Regions from separate parts of the Homo sapiens genome. Here region 2 is linked to region 1. The links are contacts of gene promoters, found by promoter capture Hi-C in blood cells and fetal thymus (Javierre and others, 2016). All regions are on one chromosome and are shown on one strand. Each heading gives the region's core, a stretch centred on a gene start or on the middle of the fragment in contact. The rest is flanking DNA. Distances are from core to core; before and after follow the strand shown. Region 1 holds the start of GRIK1-AS1 (GRIK1 antisense RNA 1). Region 2 overlaps GRIK1 (glutamate ionotropic receptor kainate type subunit 1).

What was found. The method cuts DNA at HindIII sites, captures the fragments that hold promoters and counts their contacts. A CHiCAGO score of 5 or more calls a contact.
Region 2: a fragment that was not itself captured here is called in contact with the fragment with the promoter of GRIK1-AS1 in region 1 in 1 of 17 cell types (monocytes); the score reaches 5.5 in monocytes.

The regions. Positions count from the first base shown.
Region 1 is chr21:29,746,751-29,749,699 of GRCh38, reverse strand. It overlaps GRIK1-AS1 (GRIK1 antisense RNA 1), which reads right to left and starts at 1,525. Exons shown (of 5, transcript NR_027021.1): 1 at 1,400-1,525; 2 at 555-866. All of the region lies in intron 1 of GRIK1 (glutamate ionotropic receptor kainate type subunit 1), which reads left to right. The HindIII fragment of the contact is 19,094 bases long and covers 1,487-2,949 here.
Region 2 is chr21:29,598,749-29,601,697 of GRCh38, reverse strand. It overlaps GRIK1 (glutamate ionotropic receptor kainate type subunit 1), which reads left to right. Exons shown (of 18, transcript NM_001330994.2): 8 at 2,761-2,868. The region is part of intron 2 of GRIK1-AS2 (GRIK1 antisense RNA 2); the gene reads right to left. Among named protein-coding and RNA genes, the nearest start is that of GRIK1-AS2, 4.2 kb to the right of the region's middle. The HindIII fragment of the contact is 3,290 bases long and covers 1-2,949 here.

The DNA.
Region 1 (2,949 bases), core at 276-2,775:
TTTGCTTGCTGCCTTTTAAAAAGTAGAAATAATCCTCGGTCAAATGCTGCACATGAATTCACATTAAAGTGTCTGCACTCTCCTGCTGATAAAGACCCAAATGTGGCAGAAATGGTACAGAAGAGGAGGCAGCTTGGGATTTGGCAGTCTTGTGAAGATTCAGCCATGGCTATAAACAAGGGTATGTGGAATCCAATGGGAGCCTTCTTAACTACCACATCCCAAAGAAGTAACAGAGAGCTCAAGCCCTTCAGCCCATTTCACAGATGGAGATGCTGAGGCCAAGGCTATTAGACACGTCCACTATGCTACGTTAGATCGGTGACAAAGCTGATTCTCCTGACTTCCAGTCTAGTGAGCTTTCTATCATCCAGTCCTGTCCCTATGTGATCAGCTGCATAAATTCTGAGTAAAACAACTGACTATATTGTTCAATATCCACTGTAACATGCAACTTGCTCATCAGAAAGTTAAGGCTAACTTTTTCCCCAACAGGAAAGTCAGAAACAAATCATTTTTAGTAATAATGAAGCTCTGTTAGAAGTACCACTCACCTTAAAAATATGTTTAGGAATTATTAATATACTCTCAGCATTCTGATTTTCCTGGCTTTCTGAAGCTAAGATGTTGCAGGAGAGCCTTCGTGGCTTTGATCACAGGCAATCAAAGAGGACTTTGTGTAGCTTCCAGGGACACGCTGTTGCTGGAAAAGTCGGAGCTCTGCTATGCAAAAGAAACTGCTACAGAAATCCCCTTCATTCTTAACTCCAGATCGAATTAGGATCAGAAGGCTCTTGTTCGCTGCCCAGGAGTCTGTGGTTTTAATTTTCTTATCTGCATTTTTCTTTCCTGCCCGTTCCAGGTAGCTGTCACAAAAAATATGAAAAGGGTGTTAATTTGTTGATCGTTCTTTGCTGCTTCTCACTTTCATGTTTACAGCAAGGAGAAGAGCAATTGTTTCTACCAGTAGCTTTAGTATTTTGAGTTCTCATGTGTGTAATAACTATCTTGGTAGGCCCAGAACACACAATCTCATCCAATTTTGAAATTTGGATTTTATGCCAGATGGATTATTTCAGTACGGATTACAAATGCTTATACTATTCTGCCTAGCAGAGTTTGGGTCATAAAAATCATTAAATGTAAAACATTGCACAAAGTTGCCCAAATTGTCATGTCTCTGGCCAAATTTGTGGAAATAAAAGGAGCCATGCATTTGGGTTATTTCTACAGTTTGGAAACTTTGACTCTTATCTTCTCTTAAGCTACTCAGGAAATTTCCAGACTCTAAAATCTGAGAGGAATTGTTCAGACAGACAAAGGTGGTCCAGAATGGAGACTTTCCTGATGCCAAGGATGGCAGGACCCGTGAGTGTCCACTTCACCCCTGTGATCCTACCTCTCGTGAGGCTTTACTGATGACCTTGGCTTCCTCTTTGATGAAACTTTTGGTGGCTGAGCCTCTTGAAACTGACTTGGACAAGCTTGGACAAACAACCTTCTTTTGAATCAACAGAGTGTAACTGAAATACCGTTGGAAAATTCAAACAATACTCTGATTAATGCCAGGGAGAAACAATATGTAAATAAACCCAAGAACTTAAATGAATACTTAAGAAACATACACCTTGCTTTCACAGTGTTAGCTGGAACTCAGGAAAGGGGTGTTGGAAAAAGTGGAGGTGGCATGTCTCTTTTATTTTATTGTTTGAGATGAAACGGGATTAAGCATGTTTAAATTCTAAGGGAGAAAAAGGTTGCTGTAAATTGTGACTTTAAAAAGACTGACATTAAATCACAGAATATTTCTTCAGTGGGCTACTGAAATTTATGTCTGTAATCACTACTCATGCTTTCTATTCTTTTTTCTTTGAGATGGAGTCATGCTCTGTCGCCAGGCTGAAGTGCAGTGGTGCAATCTCTGCTCACTGCCAGCTCTGCCTCCCAGGTTCAAGCGATTCTCCTGCCTCAGCCTCCCGAGTAGCTGGAACTACAGGCACGTGCCACCACGCCCAGCTAATTTTTGTATTTTTAGTAGAGACGGGGTTTCACCATATTGGCCAGGATGGTCTCGATCTCCTGACCTCGTGATCCACCTGCCTCAGCCTACCAAAGTGCTGGGATTATAGGTGTGAGCCACCCGGCCTGGCCCATGCTTTCTATTCTTTCTTCAACAACTGATACTATCTTTCTTCAACCAACTGATACTTTCTGCCTTCGCCTCTTCTCAGGGTCTGCCTTGTTTACCTTAACCCCTGCAGGAAGCCAGATCACAATTGGAGATTTCCTTCCTGATCATGTAAAGAGAACACAACAAGGATTTGGGAGATTAATCTGATGTGTAAGAGCTAGACATATCCTACTCAAAAGGATGCTCTTACTCCCTAGCCAGGACCATGCATAAATGGCATGCCCATATTGCTCTGAGACTTTCTTTTCCCTTATCTTCCCATGGCTGTGCAGACATCAGTTGAGACTATATTCTTTCTTAGTACTCTAATACATTCAGGCAGGTTACAATCAAGTCTTGCAGTCCTGGGAGCTCTTTTGTCTATTTAAGGTAACTGTGATTCTCTACTTTTATTTATTATTTGTTTGGCTCATAGTTTAGCTCTCAGGGAACAATTTTATTTTCATTATTCCTAAGTTCTTGGGAGACACCTTATGGTATCCAACAAAGACTAACAACACCATGCAGCAGTGCAAATTCACTCTAAGTAAACCGATGAAAAATAGACCTTTAATCTGATTGAGGTGTAGAAAATGGCTACCTAAAAGTGATACTTTTTCCTTTTGATTATTTTGTATGGCAGTACCTTGAGTAGGGAAAAAATGTTTTCTTTTTCTCTGTGTGTAAAAATCACCAAAAGTTACTTTGAACATCAAAAGAACACCACTTTAAATTGCATTTCTGGTTGTTCCCTTCAATTGGCAATTCTCTGGTTTATA
Region 2 (2,949 bases), core at 282-2,781, 150 kb after region 1:
CTGGGAGGCCTGTGCCTCAAAGAGGAGAATAGTGACTGTGGACCAAAATAGCACAATAAGCCAATCTTGAAGGCTGGATAGGAGATGGAGAGGCTGAGTGGAGGCTGCAGGCTGGGATGAATAGCACAGAGGCTGGAGAGCCCAGGCCTGTTCCAGCTGGGGCTGTGCATAGGGGAGCGGTGGTAGGAAATTCTGGAGACGTAGCTTAGGCAAAATTTTCAAAGACCTCTGTATTATCCAGAATTCTCCAGAGAAACAGAACAATAGGATATATATACAAAGAGGTTTACTATGAGAAATTGGCACACCAACATGGAGGCTGAGAAGTCCCACATTCTACCATCTGCAAACTAGAGACCCTGGAAAGCTGGCTGGTGTAAGTCTAGTCTGAGTCTAAAGGCCTGAGAACGAAGAGCATCGATGATGTAATCTCCTGTTCTCAAGAACAGGTGAAGGCCGCTGTTTCAGCTGTCAGTCAGGCAGAGAGTAAATGCTCTCTTCCTCTGCCTTTTTGTTCTTTTCAGGCTCTACATGAATTGAATGGTACCCACTCACGTGGAGAGGGCTGTCTGCCTTGCTCAGTCCACCATTTCAAATGCTAATCTTTTTTGGAAACACCCTCACAGACACACCCAGAAATAATGTTTGACTAGATATTTGGGCATCGTGTGGCCTAGGCAAGTTGACACACAAAATTAACCATCACAACCTCCAACGTAAAGTCAAGGTTTAGACTAATTTGTAGGTAGAATGAATCCATTATGTACTTTATGTGCTGGTGAAAATTGCATAAATACGAAAATTTACTTGGGGACCGTGAATCTGGTCGTGATTTGTAAAATGAAATACAGCACAGCCAAGTAAAGGCTAAACGTGAGATAGTAATAGCCAAACTCTAGAATTATGAAAGTGGGAAAAGTGAGAGACAGTTATAAAAACAATAAATGTTAAAAATTAAAACGCCTCAAGTTCAGTAGCTTGCCTGAAGTTACACTGCAGATATTCAGCCCTAGAGGTATGGAAAATTCACTGCATTGCTCTGCCTCTTGGCCAAATGGGTAAATACATTCAACATATATACGTGGCGCAAATAACTGCAAATACAGTGTAATTCTTCAGAATCTTCCCATTTTATGCATGTCTAATGAATTTGGTAAAGTCAAGAGGGAGAAAAACAGCTAAGTGGATACAAAGATCTGAGTTTTCCTTTATCCCTATTTGTAAGTGAAACTCAAATCAACAAGGTTGCCAAAAATCACCTAATGATTGAAGCTGAAGACTCTCCCAAGGGCCACCGCTTTTTATTTAATAAAACCACCAGAGATACCCAATGTGAGTTCTGTGAAAGGCAGACTATTGTGAATTTTTTGTTATTTGAAATGATGTTGATATGTAGGGTAGGAAGAAGACCGGCACCCTCAAAAGTTACCCATGTCCTCATCCCTGGAACCTGTAAATGTTAATTTATATAGCAAAAAGGCCTTTGCATAGGTGATTAAGGATTTTTGAGATGGGGAAATTATCCAGGTGAGTTCTATTTAGATTGTATTTACAATCACAAGTGTCTTTATAAGACAGAAGCAGAAGGAGTTTTTTTGTTTTTGTTTTTGTTTTAGACGGAGTCTTGCTCTGTCGCCAGGCTGGAGTGCAATGGCATAATCTCGGCTCACTGCAACCTCTGCCTCTGGGGTTCAAGCGATTCTCCTGACTCAGCCTCCCGAGTAGCTGGGATTACAAGCATGCGCCACCACGCCTGGCTAATATTTTGTATTTTTAGTAGAGATGGGGTTTCACCGTGTTAGCCAGGATGGTCTCGATCTCCGCCCACCTCGGCATCCCGAAGTGCTGGGATTACAGGCGCAAGCCACTGCGCCCGACCCTTTTTGTTTGTTTGTTTGTTTGTTTGTGACAGAGTCTTGCTCTGTTGCCCAGGCTCCTGGAGCGCAGTGGAAGGATCTCGGCTCACCACAACCTCCACCTTGCAGAGGGAGCTTTTATGCAGACAGCAGGGGAGGAGGAAATGTGACCACTGAGGCAGAGATTGGAGTGATGCAACCACAAGAGAAGGAGAAATGCCAGAAGCCACCAGAAGCAGAAGGAGGCAAAGAATAGGGTCTTCCCTCGAGCCTCCAGAGAGAGCACGGTCCCGCTGACACATTAATTCCACCCAGTTAACACTGATTTTGGATTTCAGGCCTCCATAACCTTGAGAAAATAAATTTCTGTTGTTTTGAGCACCCACGTTTGTGATTACTTGCTACAGCAGCCACGGGAAATTATAATGCCCAAATGGTGCAAACACGCTAAGTCATAAACAGCCTAAAAACTGCAATACATCATTGGACTATATTAGTCTATATTCTTTTCACAGAGAAAGAAAAAGCAGGGACTCACTTCCACTCAGCCATATCTCAAAGGGAATTTGGATTGACCTTGGAAAACAGAATATTGTGATTTCTCAGATTTTGTGTATTCCGTGTGCAGACTGTTTTACGGCAATTCTTTCCATACTGTCCATTTAGGTAGCCACGATGACAGGTTTGACTGGGTTAGGATGTTAGAATTGACAGAATAAATGAGTGCTAATAAAAAGACGATGTGTTCTGCTATCTTGTCGCTGAACCAATGCAATGGTTTATAACAGCATGATGAAAACAAATAATTGGATACTGTGATGAATTTGAGGTATTATAATTTTGATGGTCTCAGGAATTATGATAAATGTTTAACAATAACAGCCACATTTCTTCTTGTCCACAGGCCCGGTGGGATGGCTTGACTGGGCATATCACCTTTAATAAAACCAATGGCTTGAGGAAGGATTTTGATCTGGACATTATTAGTCTCAAAGAGGAAGGAACTGAAAAGGTAACCTCCTTAACAATAAATAAATAAAATAACAAATGAACATTGTTCAGGCATTTTTACTAAATTGCAAAGACAAGTAGG